Regions from separate parts of the Homo sapiens genome. Here all the other regions are linked to region 1. The links are contacts of gene promoters, found by promoter capture Hi-C in blood cells and fetal thymus (Javierre and others, 2016). All regions are on one chromosome and are shown on one strand. The core of a region is centred on a gene start or on the middle of the fragment in contact, and the rest is flanking DNA. Distances in the headings are between cores, read along the strand shown. Region 1 holds the start of AMHR2 (anti-Mullerian hormone receptor type 2). Region 2 overlaps CSAD (cysteine sulfinic acid decarboxylase). Region 3 overlaps ZNF740 (zinc finger protein 740). Region 4 holds the start of LOC122455340. Region 5 has its middle 7.1 kb from the start of SLC61A1.

Evidence for each region. The method cuts DNA at HindIII sites, captures the fragments that hold promoters and counts their contacts. A CHiCAGO score of 5 or more calls a contact.
Region 2: a contact is called between a fragment that was not itself captured here and the fragment with the promoter of AMHR2 in region 1, in 6 of 17 cell types (neutrophils, activated CD4 T cells, total CD4 T cells and 3 more). The highest score is 7.0, in neutrophils.
Region 3: a fragment that was not itself captured here is called in contact with the fragment with the promoter of AMHR2 in region 1 in 7 of 17 cell types (activated CD4 T cells, neutrophils, total CD8 T cells and 4 more); the score reaches 9.7 in activated CD4 T cells.
Region 4: a contact is called between a fragment that was not itself captured here and the fragment with the promoter of AMHR2 in region 1, in 4 of 17 cell types (total B cells, endothelial precursors, activated CD4 T cells and 1 more). The highest score is 5.9, in total B cells.
Region 5: a fragment that was not itself captured here is called in contact with the fragment with the promoter of AMHR2 in region 1 in 2 of 17 cell types (total B cells and erythroblasts); the score reaches 5.8 in total B cells.

The regions. Positions count from the first base shown.
Region 1 is chr12:53,420,978-53,425,104 of GRCh38, forward strand. It overlaps AMHR2 (anti-Mullerian hormone receptor type 2), which reads left to right and starts at 2,878. Exons shown (of 11, transcript NM_020547.3): 1 at 2,878-3,006; 2 at 3,311-3,493; 3 at 3,732-3,923. The coding sequence starts at 2,958. RefSeq lists an enhancer at 196-762 and a cis regulatory region at 447-965. The HindIII fragment of the contact is 5,088 bases long and covers 682-4,127 here.
Region 2 is chr12:53,171,165-53,175,291 of GRCh38, forward strand. It overlaps CSAD (cysteine sulfinic acid decarboxylase), which reads right to left. Exons shown (of 17, transcript NM_001244705.2): 3 at 2,564-2,606; 4 at 2,181-2,312; 5 at 1,358-1,484; 6 at 1,182-1,272; 7 at 718-824; 8 at 162-277. The coding sequence starts at 2,306. Among named protein-coding and RNA genes, the nearest start is that of ZNF740, 7.5 kb to the right of the region's middle. RefSeq lists enhancers at 349-848, 3,715-4,127. The HindIII fragment of the contact is 411 bases long and covers 2,146-2,556 here.
Region 3 is chr12:53,190,475-53,194,601 of GRCh38, forward strand. ZNF740 (zinc finger protein 740) reads left to right here. Exons shown (of 7, transcript NM_001004304.4): 7 at 1-4,127. It overlaps ITGB7 (integrin subunit beta 7), which reads right to left. Exons shown (of 16, transcript NM_000889.3): 10 at 3,724-3,870; 11 at 3,234-3,427; 12 at 2,666-2,889; 13 at 2,217-2,436; 14 at 1,856-2,064; 15 at 1,385-1,545; 16 at 849-1,162. The coding sequence ends at 1,082. Among named protein-coding and RNA genes, the nearest start is that of CSAD, 12 kb to the left of the region's middle. The HindIII fragment of the contact is 2,681 bases long and covers 412-3,092 here.
Region 4 is chr12:53,240,091-53,244,217 of GRCh38, forward strand. It overlaps LOC122455340, which reads left to right and starts at 1,810. Exons shown (of 1, transcript NM_001395962.1): 1 at 1,810-2,632. The coding sequence starts at 1,833. The coding sequence ends at 2,351. RefSeq lists an enhancer at 1,721-2,633. The HindIII fragment of the contact is 2,909 bases long and covers 686-3,594 here.
Region 5 is chr12:53,257,135-53,261,261 of GRCh38, forward strand. No RefSeq gene overlaps it. Among named protein-coding and RNA genes, the nearest start is that of SLC61A1, 7.1 kb to the left of the region's middle. The HindIII fragment of the contact is 8,302 bases long and covers 1-4,127 here.

The DNA of each region.
Region 1 (4,127 bases), core at 1,628-4,127:
TACTATCTCTTCCTTTCATGCAGGTTTCCCAGAAGAAAGACCCCAGAATCAAAAAGTCAGTACTCAAGCTGGGCGCAGTGGCTCCCGTCTGCAATCCCGGCACTTTGGGAGGCCGAGGGGGGCGGATTACCTGAGGTCAGGAGTTTGAGACCAGCCTGGCCAACATGGCGAAACCCCGTCTCTACTAAAAATACAAAAATTAGCCGGGCGTGGTGGTATGCGCCTGTAGTCCCAGCTACTCAGGAAGCTGAGGCCGGAGAATCGCTTGAACCCGGTAGGCAGAGGTTGCAGTGAGCCGAGATCGCACCACTGCACTCCAGCCTGGGTGACAGAGCGAGACTCCGTCTCAAAAAAAAAAAAAAAAAAAAATGTCGGTACTCAGACTGTCCTCCCTGGTCTAAGCCAGATCATTCCAAGAAAGGGTTTCCAGGAAGCCACTAGGGGGACAGAAAGCTAGGGAAACAGAGAACAAGTCCCCTCTGACTCTTAATTCTCAAGGAGCCAGTGGCTCACAGGTGTGGAAGTGATTACCTATTTCTGTTGTTTCTTACTCTGGGAAAGAGTCTGGTGGAGTTGGACTCCTCTGTCTCTACTGCAGAACAAGCCATAGCCCTCTCCTCCCAACTCCATGCTGAAACTCTCCACATCCTGTGCCCGCCCTTCACATTTTATAGTCCCTGAAGCTTAGTAAATGTAGGAGGTATACTATATGTATTAGTCATCAGAGGAGGTACTTTCTGCCCTCTCACCGCAGCAGGGAATTTCTCCTCTGCTGACCTCTGGTGGTGATAGTTTGAACTGTACCCTCCCTTTTTAGTTAGTGGCCTGTTGGCAGGTAATGATGCATATTTTCTCAACAATTTAAATTCAAATGTCCAAGTATAGTATTAAGTGGTAATTTTTTTTCATTGTTGAATTTTGTACGTCTTTCAGGCAGTATAGTGTAATACAAAGAATAGAGCCGGCCGGGTGCGGTGGCTCACGCCTGCAATCCCAGCACTTTGGGCGGCCGAGGCGGAGGGATCACGAGGTTAAGAGATCGACCCCTTCGGCCGGGCGCAGTGGCTCACGCCTGTAATCTCAGCACTTTGAGAGGCCGAGGCGGGCGGATCACGAGGTCAGGAGATCAAGACCATCCTGGCTAACACGGTGAAAACCCGTCTCTACTAAAAATACAAAAAATTAGCCGGGCGTGGTGGCGGCCGCCTGTAGTCCCAGCTGCTCGGGAGGCTGAGGCAGGAGAATGGCGTTAACCCGGGAGGCAGAGCTTGCAGTGAGCCGAGATCGCGCTACTGCACTCCAGCCTGGGCGACAGAGCAAGACTCCATCTCAAAAAAAAAAAAAAAAAAAAAAAGATCGACCCCATCCTGGCCAACATGGTGAAACTCCGTCTCTACTAAAAGTACAAAAATAATAATAAAAATAAGACTAGAACCTGGACTTTGGAGTCAGACCTGCCTAAGTTCAAATTCCAGCTCTGCTATTTCCTAGCTGAATGACTTTGGGCGACTTACGTAAGTTCAGTTTTCTTACCTATAAAATGGAAATAATAAAAATAATAGGCCAGGCACAGTGGCTCACACTTGTAATCCCAGCACTTTGGGAGGCCAAGGCGGGCAGATCACGAGGTCACGAGATCGAGACTATCCTGGCCAACATGGTGAAACCCTGTCTCTACTAAAAATACAAAAATTAGCTGGACATGGTGGTGCGTGCCTGTAATCCCAGCTACTCGGGAGGCTGAGGCAGGAGAATCGCTTGAACCAGGGAGTCAGAGGTTGCAGTGAGCCAAGATGGCACCACTGCACTCTAGCCTGGTGACAGAGCGACACTCGGTCTCAAAAAATAAATAAATAAAATAATAATAATAAATATTTCAGGGGAGAATTAGATGAGATGATTGTAAAATGCATAGCCCTAGCTGTGCCCCAGCACATAGTAGGTGCTTGATAAGAAATTTGTTACCTCCTTAATAATGGGTATTTGTTCAGCCTGTGAACCAATGTGTTTTTTTTTTTTAAGTAAAATCCACGGCTAGGCATGGTGGCTCACGCCTATAATCCCAGCACTTTGGGAGGCCGAGGCGGGCAAATCACCTGAGGTAAGGAGTTCGAGACTAGCCTGGCTGACATGGTGAAACCCCGTCTCTACTAAAAATACAAAAATTAGCCAGGTGTGGTGGCAGGCGCCTGTAATCCCAGCTACTCAGGAGGCTGAGGCAGGAGAATAGCTTGAACCCAGGAGGCGGAGGTTGCAGTGAGCTGCGATCGTGCCACTGCACTCCAGCCTGGGGGAGAAGAGCGAGACTCCGTCTCAAAAAAAAAAAAAAAAAAATCCACATAGCAAAATTTACCATTGTTACTGTTTTCAATGTGTTTTTTAAAAATTCAGGTAAGTTTTGTATACTTTCTGATTCTTAAGTTGGAAAACAAGGTAACCTCTAATATGGGCTGTGAGGCCTTCCTCTGCCCAAGCAGTTGCAGATATGAACCCTGAATATAAAGAGATCTTAGGCTAGAAAGGATCTTGGGCAGAGCTGAATGGCTCTAAGCATTTGACCTCACATTGGTTTCCTCCTGAGAAGAGTCAACAGAGTCCAGCATCTTCTTCCAAGGTCAGGGAAGGGCAAAGATTTGAAATTAGGCATCACTGGGTTCTCAGCTGGGCCTCCAAGTTCCCCTCCTCTCACTATGCAGAGCAAAGAGGAGGTTGCAGAAGAGAAGAGGATATGAGATTGGTTCTCTGCTCCTCCCTTTCTTTCCCTGCTTTCCCCACACCCACCCTCTCCCCCACAGCAGCCTTCTCCCCCACAGAGGCTGGGATAGGATGAGGGGGGCGGAGTTGGGGACTGAGGGATCAGAAGCCCCAGGATGCCCTGTATCTGAAGAAAGATTTGGCCAGGGGCAGCTGTGCTGGCTTATGCTCTTCTCCTTCTGCTGCTGCCATCCTCCAGCAAGATGCTAGGGTCTTTGGGGCTTTGGGCATTACTTCCCACAGCTGTGGAAGGTAAGTGTCTACAGGGAGGGGAAGGGTCTCTCCATCCATCCAGCAAGGGAAAGGGGCGCTTGAAGCAAGAGCCACCCCTTTGGAAGAGTGGTGAGTGGGCTGGGTGAGTAAGGGTGAAGGATAGAGCCATGTGTCCCCATGGCAGGGCTCAGGTTCCAGGCCTCTGCTGACCCTGCTTCCTCCTGTGGCTTTACCATACTGACGCTGGGATGTGGAACATGTTTTGTCTATTCTTTTGGCCAGTTTTTTGCCTCTGCATTCACTCCCACCTTGAATCTTTTCCTTTCCCCACCCTGGGCCTCAGCACCCCCAAACAGGCGAACCTGTGTGTTCTTTGAGGCCCCTGGAGTGCGGGGAAGCACAAAGACACTGGGAGAGCTGCTAGATACAGGCACAGAGCTCCCCAGAGCTATCCGCTGCCTCTACAGCCGCTGCTGCTTTGGGATCTGGAACCTGACCCAAGACCGGGCACAGGTGGAAATGCAAGGTGAATGGCAAAGTATATGGCAGGTGATGGCTAGGGTGGGAGACAGACACATCCTGGGGTGTGGGTGGCAACCAAGGGGGAAGGGGAGAAATAGAACATCTGGTGGGAAAGAAAAGCCCATGAGAGCTGGAAGGGACGCCTCTGATAGAGAAGGGATTTACCCTCTGTTTCCACACCCCATTGTGCTTTCTTCCTTGCCCCCCCTTTCTCTCCTCTTCCCCTAATCCCATCCCATCAGGATGCCGAGACAGTGATGAGCCAGGCTGTGAGTCCCTCCACTGTGACCCAAGTCCCCGAGCCCACCCCAGCCCTGGCTCCACTCTCTTCACCTGCTCCTGTGGCACTGACTTCTGCAATGCCAATTACAGCCATCTGCCTCCTCCAGGGAGCCCTGGGACTCCTGGCTCCCAGGGTCCCCAGGCTGCCCCAGGTAGCCACCCAAGGGTACTGAAGCCTGATGGGGGCTGGGGCCCAGGTTAGGATGAGAGGTGGAACCAGGGCCAGTTCTCACCCTACTCCCGCCCCACGCTTTCCTCCTCCTGGCCTTGGGAAGTTGGTTGCCCTGGTGACTGGGAGATAAGGGGTCTTGTGACCAGGGTGGGGGTGGGTTGAGACGCAAGCTCTCAGGAGGGGA
Region 2 (4,127 bases), core at 1,101-3,600, 250 kb before region 1:
CAGTTACTTGACCTCCTTGATTGGAAGGAAGCACATCCGCCTGGGGGCAGGCTGGCCTTGGAGGATGTAGGGAGGGCAGGGAGAAGACCTGGAAGGTCTCTACTTAGCTGGCTGGAGATTAGAATCAGGAGCCCAGGGTTGGGCCTGTGCCTCTTCCCCACCTCCTTCGATGTGAATAGGGCCAGGGGCGGCAGTGTGCGGAGGCCCCTCTGCTTGCAATCCGGGTAGCGCTGATAGCGGGCCAGATTTACAGCATACATGTTGGAGATGGAGCCACCTGTCACAGGGAGGGGGCGGTGGCAAGAGGAAGGAGCAGTGGGTCAAGACTGGAGCTTGCCTCCCTTCCCTTTCTACCAGAAGAGCTCATCAAAGAAGCAGGTATGACTGGCTCCCAGGCCACAATTCTCAGGATCATACCATCCCAGAATGGATCCAGGATCAGCAGATCCTCTTGACCACACCTCTCCACATCTGGGGCTGCCCCCAAGAGACAGCCCCCGTCCGGAGATAGCAGGAACTAGACCACTGACCCCAGGGAATGGTGACAAACATGAGCATGAAGGGACCAGGCAGCCGCCTCCCTGGCCTGGCCTGGGTCCAGCTGGAGAGGAATCAAAGAGGAATCATCCCTCCCTGCCAGACACTAGAGCAAGAGAACGGTGGGGGAGGAGGAACTCATAAAAAGGGCAAAGAAAGGTCCTCCTCCTTCTCACAAACCAGGGCAGAAGATTCCGTCCCCAGAGCTCCAGCCCACCAGGGCCCGCAGTTTCCTCAGCACCTCCTCTTCCATGAGCACAAACACGGGGGCGATTTCATATGTGTACCTGCCAGGAGAGAGAACGACGAGAAAGGAGAGATGGGGAGGGACTGCCCAGACAGGCCCTTAAACTGCACAGGAGTCACAAAAAGGAGGCAGTGAAGAGTGAGCAAAGCAACAGTCCAAGGAGAAGAACGAGTTGGTGACAGAACCAGGGAAGCAAGAAAGAGAAAACAGGGGTCAGGAGGCCTGAGAAAGTTTGGAGAAAGTGGGTCCAAAGGATATGAGGAAAAACTCTCTGCCGACAGGGATTCCCAGAAGCAGTAGAGAGAGGGCAGAACCATTCTCCTCCCCTACCCCTCAGGCACCTCTCTAGCAAACCTAAATCCTTTGTGGGATGGTAGAGGGGCCTTGGGATGCTCACTGGCTGGTGTTGAGGCTCTCAGTGATAATGCGCCCGGCCAGAGCATGGGGATCCAACCCAGAGAAGAGCTGGTTGAAGAACCGAGGGTGACCTGGAGAAGGAGAGTAAGCCAGGGAGCTCAGAGTAGAGCTCAGGGCAAACTCCCAAGTCTCCTCCTCACAGAAGCCAGGGCCCACCAGTCTTGACACTGTAGCGAATCACAGCCCGACACCGCTCCAGGATCTGCTTCTGTGACTCGCCCTGGCTCCGCAGCTCCAAATCCAGCAGCTGCTTCAGCTCCTCAGGCTCCTTCCACTCACAGACCTAGGAAGAGAGCCGGGGATGCTGGGGGCCTGGGATGCCTGTGGACTGGCTGTCAAACCACACCTCCACAGACACGAGACACGGCCAACCTGCACTAAAAACAACTTCGGGATATTTCCAAAGCAAAACTCTGAAAATGAACAAGAGTAGTGAACACAGTAAGACCCAGAATGTAAATCCCTGAGGTACCCAGGGGGGCAGGGATGAATTCTGGGGAGAAATCTTATCAAAGGAGGAAAGTTCTGAGCCAGATTTGGAAAGAGAAAGAGAAGGCTTGGGCCAGGCGTGGTAGCTCACGCCTGTAACCTCAGCACTTTGGGAGGCCGAGGCAGGCAGATTACCTGAGGTCAGGAGTTCGAGAGCAGCCTGGCTAACATGGTGAAACCCCGTCTCTACTAAAAATACAAAAATTAGCCGGGCGTGGTGGCACATGCCTGTAATCCCAGCTACTCGGGAGGCTGAGGCAGGAGAGCTGCTTGAGCCCGGGAGACGGAGGTTGCAGTGAGCCAAGATTGTGCCACTGCACTCCAGCCTGGCCGATAGAGCGAGACTCTGTCAAGAAAGAAAGGAAGAAAGGAAAAAAGGAAGGAAGAAAGAAGGAAGGAAGGGGGGGGGAGAAAGAAAAGAAAGGAAAAAAGAAAAGAGAAAAGAAAAGAAAGAAAGCTTGATGGGAAGGAGGAGGAAGAAAGGACTCACCTTCTGGGAGACACTGGTTCCTTTCTGAATGGCCTCATCCACAACAACCCCAAACACGGCCCGGAGCAAGGCTTCCACAGCCACTGGGTCCCCAGCAAGGGAGGGGAGTGCTTCTGAGTCAGCCATCAGGATCTGTGGCAGAGCAGAGTCATTCCCTACTCAGCCTGTCAACCCTTCCCGGACCTACCCAGCAGGAGCCTCCTCTCCCAAACGGGCCTGAGGCCCAAACCCTGCAGCTCAGTCTCGGCCTCCAGTGCACAGACAAGGGCAAGTGAGAGTGCCCAGGGAGAAAACCAGTGGGAACAGGTGGGAGAGAAAAGGCAGTCAGTGCTGAGCAAGTGGACTCTAGTGGCCATTTCCACCTAAGGCAGAGACAAGCTTACCTCTCTGCTCAGGAGAGCCGGAGGCAGGGTGCACAGGTAGCTCCTCAGGACAGCAGGACCAAGATGGCAGAGGAAGTGGGGTGAAAAGTGTACAATTAAGTGTTTTTTTCATAAATTCACAAAGTTGTTGCAACCATCATCACTATCTAACGCCAGAACATTTTCATCACCCAAAAAAAAACCTCAGTAGCAGTCATTTCCCATTCTCCCCTTCCCCGACCCCTGGCAACTACTAATCTACTTTGTTTCTGTAGATTTGTCTAGTCTGGCCATTTCATGTAAAACGGGTCATACAGGCCAGGCGCAGTGGGTCACGCCTGTAATCCCAGCACTTTGGGAGGCCGAGGCGGGCGGATCACGAGGTCAGGAGATCGAGACCATCCTGGCTAACACGGTGAAACCCCGTCTCTACTAAAAATACAAAAAATTAGCCGGGTGTGGTGGCGGGCCCCTGTAGTCCCAGCTAGCTACTCTGGAGGCTGAGGCAGGAGAATGGCGTGAACCCGGGAGGCAGAGCTTGCAGTGAGCAGAGATCGCGCCACTGCACCCCAGCCTAGGCGACAGAGCGAGACTCCATCTCAAAAAAAAAAAAAAGAAAAAAAGAAAATACTGAAAAAGAAGGAAAAAGACTTCAAAATATTCATTTGTGGCTATTTCTGGGTGTTGTTATGGATGATTTTTAAGTTTATTATTTATACACATCTATATTTTTATAACTTTATACAATCATTTCACATTGCTTATGGAATTAAAATAACGGTTCTTTTTAAACAATATAAAAATTGTCCGCGTGTGGTGGCTCACACCTGTAATCCCAGCACTTTGGGATGCTGAGGTGGGTGGATCACCTGAGGTCAGGGGTTTGAGACCAGCCTGGCCAACATGGCGAAACCTCATTTCTACTAAAAAATACACAATTAGCCGGGCGTGGTGGCGGGTGCCTGTAATCCCAGCTACTCAGGAGGCTGAGGCAGGATCCACCTGAACCTGTGAGGCGGAGGTTGCACTGAGCCAAGATGGTACCACTGCACTCCAGCCTGGGCGACAGAGTGGGACTCCATTTCAAAAATATATATATATATGGAGGAATTAAGGGGGTACAAGAATTCTAAAATATACAAATCATCAGGCTCAAGGAATGTCCCTTGCACATCATGTGGTTTCCCAACTCCTCAATCCACTGTTATCAAAGGTCTAATGGAAGGCAAAGGGAGCCACACACTGCTCATCTCTATTACGCAACCCCTCAACCCCCGCTGGCTCTCAGGGAAGGGAATGGGTTCAGTTTGTTCAGCAAACATTGACTGAGTGTTGTCTACTTCTGAGCGCCTGGCTGGCATTACCCTAGGTGCTGCATCTGCCCTGTGGGCTCCAGCTAACAGGCTGGCAAGAGAGACCTGCATGTAAAATAAAGGGAAATTGCCACAAGAGGGAGTTGAGAGGTCACCATGGAAAGGCAGGAAAGTTCAACTGGCCCAGGACAGGCTTCAAGGACAAAACACTAAGGCTCTCCTTAAGGCAATAGAGAGCTGGTGCAGGAAAAGACTCAGCAGGAGTCATTGCA
Region 3 (4,127 bases), core at 502-3,001, 230 kb before region 1:
CTTTGCCCCAAGTCTTTTCCGTCCACCCCCAACAGCCTTGTCATCACTTAGCTACTGATCACGCCCATGGCTTGACATTGGAGGGTTACATTAGTGGAGTCCGCCACAGCTTCGAACCCTCTCCCCAGATGCCCTTTGCCTCTGCTGTGGCCCTGGGGTTTTATCAACTGTCCCCTTCCTATCCTCCTCTCCACCCTGTTTTTTGTTTTTTTTTTTTTTAAATAATATTTTGCTATGGGGGAGGGGAATATCAAATGGACAAGATCACTTTTAAATGGTAGTTTTTATAAGATGTTATAAACTTGTATCTTTTTACCATTAAAGTGCAGTGTATGTTCCTTCGTGATATATTTAGGATATTTAAATAAAAGGAAAATGGGGCTTTTCTACATACTATCTCCTCTTTGGGGAAGCTTTTTCATACTGGTTTTAGTTGTTTTCCTTTTTTCTCCCTACATAATCACCCCACAACTTCCAGCACCCTATAAGCCATTTTAAAACCCCTTCTCCACAGAGGAACAAGCAAGTAGGAGCAAAAACAGGGCATCAGTTCTGAGCAAGACGAAAAAGCACACGCAGCAGGACGGAAGGAGGCTAGACACCAACAGATGCAGTGTCTCTGACCTGGGACCCCCCTGCATCCGCAGCACTTGAGAATTCATAGGCCCTTTCCAGACCTGGCTTCCTGGGTCCCAGGGTGCACCCCGGGAGTTTCCTGCACATTCGCGCTTGGGCACCTCTCCCTGCCCTCAGGTGGCAAGAGGAGGATGGACAAGAGCTTTCCCGAGGCCCAGGCTATAAACAGTCTGCTTTGGCCTTGATGAGGTAAAGCAAAGTGACAGCTGTGGTCTGAGGTAAGACTTTATTGTATACTTGGGTGGGGTAGCCCAGATGGATGCAAGGTTGCAGGCATGGGAAGCAGCCCTCTTGGGTGTCACTCTGAAAATGAAGTAGGGTGGTGGCCGCACCTCGCCAGTGAATTAGTCCCCTACCAAGGTCTTACAGACCCACCCTTCCTCTCACCCTCCAGTTCCCACTGTCCTCCAAGGAGAAGAGCCTTGGGTAAGTGTCCCTCCCTCCTTCAGAGAGTGGGACTGTCTGCCTCTTGAAAGCGAGGATTGATGGTGGTCGTGATGGCACTTTTGTAGAGAGGATTACTGTCCTGGAGAAAGATGTTGCAGATTATAAGCAAAAATCCCAGGATTCCTCGTCCCCTTTCTAGACCTAAGAGGCCAGCCTTGAGCCGAATCCTAGGAGCTGATGGAAGTTAGCAGAGGGGTTGGTTACATGTGCCAGGGGCTGGGGGAACCCAGTGGGAGGAATCAGGGCTGGTCTTGTGGTGGGGGAACAGCTAAAAAGGGGCCTAACCAGGAAGTCTCCTCACCTGCTTCCAGTTGAGTTGTTGCTGCTCCTTCTCAAAGCGACTGTATTCCCGGCGGTCATAGATTTCCACCGAGAGCCGGTAAGCCAGGACCAGCCCCAGCCCCACTGCCACGATGCCCCCTACGCAGCCCAGCACAATGGCCTGCGTGTGGTCTGCTCCCTCTGTGAACAAGAAACCAGACACACTTGTGGGAGCTGGAGCATAGGGACAGATCATCAGTTGCTCACAGTGTGTCCAGCCTGTCCAACCCTGTCTGTCACTGAAAGCAAAGGGAACCCAGGGAGGTCCAAGGTTATCCTCACCGCCCAGGGCCTTAGCCTCGTCCACTTGCTCAATTGCCTCTGCCTTTGTCCTGGATTCACAGTTCTGCTTCAGCCCCCAGCCTGTTTCCCATTATCTTCACTCTGCATCCCCAGAGTTGAGACCCTGCCCATCAAACTTCCAGGGTTTGTGGCATCCCTGCCCACTTACTTTCTTGGGGTCTCACTCTGAGCACGACCGTGCCTCTGGCGTCATCCTCCACCAAGAAGAAGAACAGCTGGTTGTCCAGGGTCCGCTCTTTGCACCAGCCATCATCCAAGATAGGGGCCAAGGCCAGGGTCACATTGGTATGGGCACAAGCTGTACTGCAGTTGGTGGCCAGTGGGCCAGTCCTGAAGGCCCCACACTCTGCACAGTCCCTGTGTAGTAGATGCCAATAGGTTACCAGCTGGGCAGTTGTCACCCAATGCCCCTTGCCCAACTACAAGCAGGACGGAGAGTAGGCAGATGGGAGTAGCTCAACAAGCCCCACTGTGCCCCTGCTCCCAAGATGCAAGACCTGAGGCCTCACCGGTGTCTCTCGCATGGTGTCTTGCAGCCTGGGCATTGGTCGCATAGAGCACCATAGTAGCCGTCCAAGCACTGGCAGCGGTTGCATTTGCAGCGTCCATGCCCACTGCAGAGCCCTCCCTCGGGACTGATGCAACTGTCCATGTCCCCACTGCATTCGCATGCTCTGCCCGTGCGGTTGGCATGACAGTGACATACTCCACATTGGCAGCGACCAAAGCCTGGGGTAGAGCCATGCAGAGGGTGACAACCATACTCCACACACACAGTTGGCCATCATGTGGCACGACAAGCCCACGCATCCAATCTTTTTGAAGTATGCCAACCACACCCTCTAACCCATACACCGGAATCTTTTGATATTTGCCTTCCATGCCAGGAGATTCCCAGAGCCTAAGTGCCTTGGGAAGGCCTCTCAGACCCCGCCCTTCTCCCCAAGGCTCCAGGTACCTCCGCAGAGGATGCCCTCATGTCGCTCACAGCTGGCATCGTCACACTCGCACAGATGCCCAGAGCTCTGTCCACTGCAGCTGCAGCGTCCACATTGACAGTGACCCTTTCCACTGCACAGGGGCCCTGTGCCATTGGGAGCCCGGCACCCAGATTCCAGGTCTGGGGAGGACAGCTCTGCCACAGAGCACTCACAGAGCCGACCTAGGCGGCCAGGGGCACAGCTGGAAGGGGAAGGCAAAGGAGAGAAGTAGGTCAGAGGGTTTGATCACCCCTGACTTGTCTCTCCCAGGAACCTCTAAACCCAAGTTCTCAAAAGAGTTGGAGACAGACAAACAGCTGAAAGGATGTTAAGTATAGTGAAACACTGAGGGGTGAGAGAGTGGAGGGAGCCCCAGTCAGGGGGAGGGCCTGGACATACATGGGAAGCTTCAAGGGATGAAACTGAGTGGGGAGTCGGGATGTCGAGGAGACTCCTGTGGGGGGGATGGAAAGCAGCGGAGGAATACGGGCCAGGGTTGGTTGGTTGTTGGGAGCCAGGTGGTTGAAGGGAAGAGGAGGCCCTCACCTGCATACACCACATTGTAGGTGTCCCTGGCCATCACTGCAGTGGGGAGCCTGGGGCTGGGTGTCACTGCAATTACAGTCACACAGCGTGTGCAACTCCACAATCAGCTCCTCTGAGAAGCCAAGGGCCCGGAGCCTCAGGAGATGGGGCTCTGGGAGGCAGTGGGTGGCTTGGAGAGAAACCCAGAAAGTCACCTGAGAAGAGGCAGGAATCAGGCCATGGTTATACACATGCACACACACATACCCCAAACTCACCAATCATCCAGAACCTCACCCCTTAGTAAATGAAGGGATGGGGTCATGTTAACACCCAACTCCTAGAAACATGCCTGAGGAAGCCACTCAGACTGCTCCAGGAAGGATGGATGGAGGACTACCTCAGGCTCTCATGTCACTCCCTGTACCTGCCACCCATCTTTTCCTGCCTGCTTAATTTCCCACTCCCACCTCCCCCTGCCCGCCTTCTGCCTGTGCTTGCTGGCTCTCACCGTCTGGTTGATTCGGACGTGGTTGCACTGTCCTCGATCCTCAGCCTTACCCTCCCTCTTCTCAGGACCCTCACACTGGGATTCGTAAGAAATGTGGACCCCAGGAGGGAGTGAAGAGTGTTCAAGGGTCACGGTGGAAGACAGGCTCTATGGGAAGAGAGCGAGTGGATAACCACGTGAAGGCAGAAAAGGACTCCAACCCCACCTTATGTCCTCTCCAGGTGTTCCCAATTCTGCCAGCACCCTGCCCTCTGCCACCTGGGGCTCCTTCCATTCTGCCCAGTCGAGGCATTTCTGGAGGGAGGACCCGTGAGAACCTTGCATAGAACATACAGGATCCAGAGGCCTCTAATACAGCATTTCAGTGCAGCTGCCAGCAAGGGCCACTGAGGGTCACAGGCTGG
Region 4 (4,127 bases), core at 890-3,389, 180 kb before region 1:
CCTGGCACTTGCTGTCCCCACTCTCTGGAATGTTCTCCCACTAGATAATTCCATGACTTGCTCTCACTTCTTTCAGGTCTTTGCTCAGTGACACCTTCCCTGACCACTGAATTTTGGATTGCCACCTCCAGCCTTCCTTATTCCTTTCTCAGCTTTATTTTTCTCCATAACCCAGCCACTCGGGTTCCATTCAGCCTCGGTCAGCTCTGCCTCCTCTGCCAGGGTTTGACAGACTGCATCTCCCCCAAAGCCCTTAAGGGTGGTCATACCTGATTGGGGGCTGGTCTAACTGTCACTTCTGATGGAGTCACCTCTCCGAGTCACTTTTTATCACATCACCCTGGGATAAGAATAGCCTTTCTCGGGCCGAGTGCGGTGGCTCACGCCTGTAATCCCAGCACTTTGGGAGGCCGAGGCACGTGGATCACAAGGTCAGGAGATTGAGACCATCCTGGCTAACACAGTGAAACCCTGTCTCTACTAAAAATACAAAAAATTAGCCGGGTATGGTGGCAGGTGCCTGTAGTCCCAGCTACTCGGGAGGCTGAGGCAGGAGAATGGCGTGAACCCGGGAGGTGGAGGTTGCAGTGAGCTAAGACTGTGCCAGTGCACTCCAGCCTGGGCGACAGAGCGAGACTCTGTCTCAAAAAAAAAAAAAAAATAGCCTTTCTCATGCTCTGAAATAAGCTTAGTTATATGTTTACCTGTTTGCTTTTTGTCTCCACCCCACCTCACCCCACCCCTCACTTCCTCATTTTTATGGGAACTCCATAAGAGAGGAAACTTAACTATCTTGTCCACTACCAAGGCCAGTGCCTGATGCATACTAGGTCTCAAATAATAGTTGACCAGGCTGGTTGTCAATCTCCCAGAGACAGTTGAGCACCCCCCACACTCACACCTGGGACTTGCTCTCTCTGGAAATTCCTAGAACCCAGGCATCCCACCTCCTCTGCCAGCTCCCAACTACATCCCAGACTCCGTCTTTCAGAGCCCTCCTGTGGCCACTGCTATTGCCTGCTGCTGCTTCCCTGAGTCCCCTGTGGGAGCTGTTTGGGGTCCCTGAAGCAGCAGCTCTGGAGGTTAGTGTTGGAGAGACTCAGGCATCAGGGGCCTAGAGCTCAAGAAATATTTTGTTTGTTTGTTTGTTTTTTGGGGTTTTATGAGACCAAGTTTTGCTCTTGTTGCCTAGGCTGGAGTACAATGGCATGATCTCAGCTCACTGCAACCTCCACCTCTCGGGTTCAAGCGATTCTCCTGCCTCAGCGTCCCGAGTAGCTGGGATTACAGGCATGTGCCACCACGCCCGGCCAGTTTTGTATTTTTAGTAGAGACAGGGTTTCTCCATGTTGGTCAGGCTGGTCTCGATCTCCTGACCTCGGGTGATCCGCCCACCTCAGCCTCCCGAAGTGCTGGGATTACAGACATGAGCCACCGTGCCTGGCCAAGAAATGCTTTTTGATTGAGTAAAGGAGAAGACTTCAGCAATGACAGGGCCTCGCCAGGTGAAGAAGGGAGCAGGGGCACTCAGAGCAGAAGGACCAGTGTGAACAAAGGACTGGAGGCCTGGGAGTACATGTCATATTTGAAGAAAGTGTTCTGATCTGGTGCTGTTGGAGGATTTTCAGGGGAGAGGGGTAGTAGGAGAGCTTTGCCGGCCTGGAAGGGGAGGGCTGGAAAAGGAGGGCTGGATGTGGAGGGCTGAGCTCCCTGCAGGATCAGCAAGGCTCAGCATGTCTTAGGTTTAATCCTGCCCCCCACCGTCCGCCCCTCCTACTCCATCCCTGTCCTCCCCTTCACCCAGCCCCCAGCCTGGCCACAACTGCAGCTGAATGGACTTCTCTCTGGGCCTACGCTTGGGGCCTAGGAATAAGAAGCCTGCCCACCAAGAGCCTCCTGCCTGCTCCAGGCATGGTCCACCTGCTGGCTCTCCTTGTCTGTCCTGTCCCCCATCTGCCTGTGCCTTCCCCTGCCATGGCTGTCCCCCACCCCCATGCTCCTGCACTGCCTGTCCCTCTAGTGCAGCTCCCTGCCCCGCTTGTCCCAGCCTCCCGGGCCCACCCTGCACCTGCTCTTGCCCCCGCTGCCCTGCCTGTCCTCCCTTGACTTGTCCCCATAACTCCTGTGTCTCATGCTCCGGTCCACCCTTGACCTGCTGCCACCCCTCACCCTGCCCAGTTTACCCTTGCTCCATGAGCCGAGCTGCCTGTTTGAGCTCCCGTTTAGGCTGCAGTGATAGCTGTAGCTGTGGCCAAGGGGCTGCCTGGGGACCTCCAGGCTCCCTTGGCTGCTGTAGCTGCTGCTTCAGGGGACAACAACGCACTTCTCGGGGGCGCTGTCTGATCATTTAGGTGGACTGTTGCCCACCAGGAGACTGTCAGTTTCCTGGAGCACTTCCGTACTGCTGCCCTGGCAAGGAGGCAGGAGCTGGGTGGAGTGGGAGAGGGATCAGCTGGACCCCTCCCTCAAGCAGGTAGAGGCAGCTGGCTTTCCCCAGTCCTGGAGAGGTGGCAGGGGGAATCTGCTTTGAAGTTAGTTTCTGGATGTGCTCCTGCTGGTTCCAGAACCTCTTCCTCTGCAACCTCTGGAATGGAAGGTGTTCTTCTCAGAGCCTCCCCCACGGCCCCTGAAGGTGAGCAAGTTGTCATTTCTTCCTCTCCACTGAGCCTCCATTGGAGTCTCCTCTGCAGTTCACATGAATAAATGGACTCTTCCTCTAGAGGAGCTGGAGTATCCTGGTCCAGAGGCCACTTCTTCTCCCTCTGACCTACACCCAAGATTGACCCAAGAGTCTCTGAATCCCTGACCTCTCACCTTGAGTCAGGCAGAGAGGGTCAGTGGCTTTTGGACCAGAAGAAGAGGCTGAGTGGAAGATATTTGGTTCCTCCCTCCACTTGGAAATCCTTGGCATCCTTTGTGGTCCTTTGTTTCTAGCCAGGAACCCTCTGCCTGGATGTCTTGTCTTTCAAATCTCTGAGAGCTCACTCAGCCTCATGACCTCAATCTTGCAGCAGTGATCCCATCTGTGACATCCAGGCTCATCTGGCATAGGGATGAGGGAGGCTGGGAACCCTTGACTCAGGCTCCTAAGGATGGCATCCACACATAGGTAGCTGTAAGTCTCCTGTCCCCAGGGATGGGACTGGGAGATGAGACAAGCCACCAAGAGATAGCTGAGAGCCAGGCTCGGTGGCTCATGCCTGTAATCCCAGCACTTTGGGAGGCTGAGGCAAGTGGATCGCCTGAGGTCAGGAGTTCGATACCAGCCTGGCCAATATAGTGAAACCCCGTCTCTACTAAAAATACAAAAAATTAGCTGGGCATGGTGGCGCGCACCTGTAATTCCAGCTACTAGGGAGGCTAAGGCAGGAAAATCGCTTGAACCCGGGAGGTGGAGGTTGCAGTGAGCCAAGACCGCGCCGTTGCACTCCAGCTTGGGCAACAAGAGCTAAACTCTGTCTTAAAAAAAAAAAAAAAGAGATAGCTGGAAGTGGGAGACTCTGGTATCTGCCTGGGATGAGCTCCTAGGCTGAGAGCCCCTGAGCACCACTCCACGTCTCTCCAGTTTTCTGGCTCCTGTACTAATCTGTTCCAAGCTTCTTTTTCTTAGCTGCCTTCTCTAGGACTCCTTTCGTTCTTGTCTTTATAGCTGTTTGTGTTTCCTTCTGTCTTTCTACCTCACTCTCTTCATTTCTGTTTCCTCCTCACTCTCTGTCACTGGGACATTTTGCCTTCACCTAATTGTATCACCACATCTGTTTTCCCCACTCTCTATCCCTCTATTACTCTATCTAATTTGAAATCAATTTAACATATGTCTTCAGCACCATAGGAAAGGTTAAAAAAATTAGCATATGTGTTTTTCTTCCCCCTTCTCTTGTCTCAATCCTTGTCTTCATGCCTATTTTCTTCCTTGGTCTTTCCTTTTCCCTCATATCTCTCTGCTTTTCTGTCCTGTTCTGCTTCTGGGTGCATTTCATTCTTTTTGGGTTTTGTTGTTAGTTTTTTGTTGTTGTTTGGTTTTTTGAGACAGGGCTCGCTCTGTTGCCCAGGCTGGAATGCGGTGGTGCAATCAGAGCTCACTGAAGTTTCTAACTCCCAGGCTCAAGCGATCCCGGACTACAGGC
Region 5 (4,127 bases), core at 902-3,401, 160 kb before region 1:
GCAATTCTGCCTCAGCCTCCCAAGTAGCTGGGACTACAGGCGTGCACCACCACGCCTAGCTAATTTTTGTATTTTTAGTAGAGACAGGGTTTCACCATCTTGGCCATGCTGGTCTCAAACTCCTGACCTCATGATCCACCCGCCTTGGCCTCCCAAAGTGCTGGGATTACAGGCATGAGCAACCGTGCCCGGCCTATTTATTTATTTTTTTGAGATGGAGTCTCGCTGTATTGCCAGGCTGGAGTGCAGTGGCACCATCTCGGCTCCGAGGTTCAAGTGATTCTCCTGCCTCAGCCTCCCGCGTAGCTGGGACTACAGACACACCCCACCGCACCCAGTTAATTTTTAGTAGAGACGAGATTTCACCATGTTGGCCAGAATGGTCTTGATTTCTTGACCTCGTGATCCACCCGCCTCAGGCTCCCAAAGTGCTGGGATTACAGGCGTGAGCCACCACACCTGGCCTTATTTATTTATTTATTTATTTATTTATTTATTTTACCCAAGAGGAAAATCCACTTAAAGAAAGCAAATAACTTGCCTAAGGGCATGTAGCAAGTGAGTGATAAAACTAAGACTAAACCTTGCCTCTTTTTGCCAACCCAGTGCCCCCTCTATGACACATGCTGCCTCTGTCCCATGGGACTTCACTTACCTGTTTTTTTAGCCTCCAGCCCTGCTTCCCCACCCAAAGCTCTGTCCCTGGAGAACAGCAAGAGAGTAGGAGTATTTGGCTGTCTGATCCACTTAGGGGTATCTATCCAGATTATTCAAATGAGGGACTGGTTCACCAGGTGCATACTCCCTGCGAAATGCTGCTCATGATGCTCCACCAAGAGGCCCCATAGGGAAGTGATTAAAAATGTGGATCTGAGGGCCGGGTGCGGTGGCTCACACCTGTAATCCCAGCACTTTGGGAGGCCAAGGCGGGCGGATCATGAGGTCAGGAGATCAAGACTATCCTGGCTAACACGGTGAAACCCTGTCTTTACTAAAAATACAAAAAATTAGCCAGTTGTGGTGGTGGGCGCCTGTAGTCCCAGCTACTTGGGAGGCTGAGGGAGAAGAATGGCATGAACCCGGGAGGTGGAGCTTGCAGTGAGCCAAGGTCGCACCACTGCACTCCAGCCTGGGCGACAGAGGGAGACTCCACCTGGAAAAAAAAAATGTGGATCTGGCCGGGCACAGTGGCTCACTCCTGTAATCCCAGCACTCTGGGAGGCCAAGGCAGGTGGATCACCAGAGGTCAGGAGTCGAGACCAGCCTGGCCAACATGGTGAAACCCGTCTCTATGATAATACAAAAATTAGCCAGGCATGGTGGTGGGCGCCTGTAATCCCAGCTACTCGGGAGGCTGAAGCAGGAGAATCGCTTGAACCCTGGAGGCGGAGGTTGCAGTGAGCCGAGATCATGCCATCATGCCATTCATTGCACTCCAGCCTGGGCAACAAGAGTGAAACTCCATCTCAAAAAAAAAAAAAAAAAAAGCCCAACTGCCTGGTTTGAATCTGGCTCCACAACTCTGTGCCTCAGTTTCCTCATCTGTGAAATGGGGAGGATAGTATAGTTTCAACCCCTAAGGGTTCTTGTGAGGATTAAATGCGTCATTGTACTTAAGTGCTTAGAACAGTATTTGGCCCACAGTATAAGCACTACATAAGTGTTTGCTTTTATATTTTATTTTTTAACTTCTCCAATCCAGCTGAGCCTATCTAGATTTGAGTGTGGGAATGAGTGGACAGGACTGTAATGGGGTGTAGAACTTCCCAATGCATCTTAGTGATTGGGGGATTCCCAGCAGCGTTTATCCTCAGTACTGGCCCAGATGGAATTATCGAGCTATTTGAGAAGGCTTCTACTCTGGGATATGTGAGCATCTGAGCTGGGTGTCAATGTGTTCCACTTGAACTCATTTCCTCTTCCTCTAGTGGGAAAGTCAGCTTGGGGTTAGACTGGATACAACCACCATCTTTCACTAAGAGGCTCCTGATTTTCTGAATTTCCATCCAGCTGGAAACATGATTATTTGATCTGGAGCTTTTAAGCGATCCTGAGGAGAAAAGAGAAACATCCTGGGGACCCAGGAGCCAATGAACGAGGAGGCAGGAGGACTGGGGCAGGAAGACAGTACAGGGTTCTGAGGCCTGGAGGATGACCTCTTCCTGGAAATTCAGTCCCTGCCCTGGGAGGGGAGGGGGCTGTTCCCGGCTAATGGTCAGCTGAGTCTAGGTCCTCTCCTTATCGCTCTTCCCCTAACCCCAATCCTGTGGTTTTCCTGCCCTTTTTATTATTTGCTGCCACTACCTCCCCATAGAACCACAGATTGGAAATGTAACACAAACAAATGTCATGCTTGAGATCAGATCTGATGTTATAAAAATACCTCACATTTACTTTAACTGTTTTTTTCATAAAGTTATATGGTCTCATTGTAAAATGGTCAAATGCAAATACAGAAATGCATATTTTATATACATATGTGAATATCAGTATGTGCTAATTACGTTATAGTAGTATATTAAAATACATATATTTGTATTGCTATATAAATATATAGTTGACGCTTGAACAACAGCAAGCCACTGACCCATGGCGCAGTTCAAAATCTGAGTATGGCTTTTTCTTTTTTTTTTTGGGGGGGACAGGGCCTCCCTCTTTCACCCAGGCTGGAGGGCAGTGGCACAATTTTGGCTCACTGCAGCCTCAGCCTCCTGGATTCAAGCAATTCTCCTACCTCTGCCTCCCCAGTAACTGGGACTACAAGGTGTGCGCCATCATGCCTGACTAATTTTTGCATTTTTAGTAGAGATGGGGTTTCACCATGTTGGCCAGGCTGGTCTCAAACTCCTGATCTCAAGTGAGCCGCCCACCTTGGCCTCCCAAAGTGCTGGGGTTACGGGAGTGAGCCACCATGCCCGGCTTTTTCTTGAGACTGAATCTTGCTATGTCACCCAGGCTGGCCTCCAACTGCTGAGCTCAAGTGATCCTCCCACCTCCACCTCAGCCTCCAGACTGGCTGGGACTACTCAAACACCACCGTGCTTGGCATTTTTTTTTTTTTTTTGCCTTCTGTTGCTGCCTCTGAAAATAATTCATTTTTTTTCTTTTTCGTTTTAAGACAAGGTCTTATGTCACCCAGGCTAGAGTGCAGTGGCACGATAACAGTTCACTGCAGCCTCGACCTCCTGGGCTCAAGCAGTCCTCCCACCTCTGAGTAGTTGGGACTACAGGTGCACACCACCACACCTAGCTAATTTTTTTTTTTTTTTTTTTTTGTAGAGAAGATGGTCTCACTATGTGACCCAGGCTAGTCTCGAACCCTTGAGCTCAAGCAGTCCTCCCACCTCAGCCTCCCAAAATGTTGGAATTACAGGTGTGAGCCACTGTGCCTGGCCTGAAGATAATTCTTTAAACTTACTTTAATTTTTCACTTTTTTTTTTTTTTTGAGATGGAGTCTTGCTCTGTCGCCCAGGCTGGAGTACAGTGGCCCGACCTTGGCTCACTGCAAGCTCCGCCTCCTGGGTTCACACCATTCTCCTGCCTCAGCCTCCCAAGTAGCTGGGACTAAAGGCTCCCGCCACCATGCCCAGCTAATTTTTTATATTTTTAGTAGAAATGGGGTTTCACCGTATTAGCCAGGATGGTCTCGATCTCCTGACCTCATGACTCACCCGCCTCGGCCTCCCAAAGTGCTGGGATTACAGGCTAATTTTTACATTTTAAAAAAATTTTTATTTATTTATTTTTTTGAGACAGTCTCACCCTGTCACCCAGGCTGGAGTGCAATGGCATGATCTCAGCTCACTGCAACCTTCGCCTCCTGTGTTCAAGCAATTCTTCTGTCTCATCCTACCAAGTAGCTGGGACTACAGGTGCACGCCACCACGTCCAGCAAAATTTTTGTATTTTTAGTAGAGATGGGGTTTCACCTTGTTGGTCAGGCTGGTCTCGAACTCCTGACCTCAGGTGATCTACCTGCCTCAGCCTCCCAAAGTGCTGGGATTACAGGTGCGAGCCACCGCGCTCAGCCACTTTAGTTTTTTTAGAGATGGAGTCTCATTCTGTTGCCCAGACTGGAGTGCAGTGGCAAGGTCATAGCTCATGGGAGTCTTAAACTCCTGGGCTC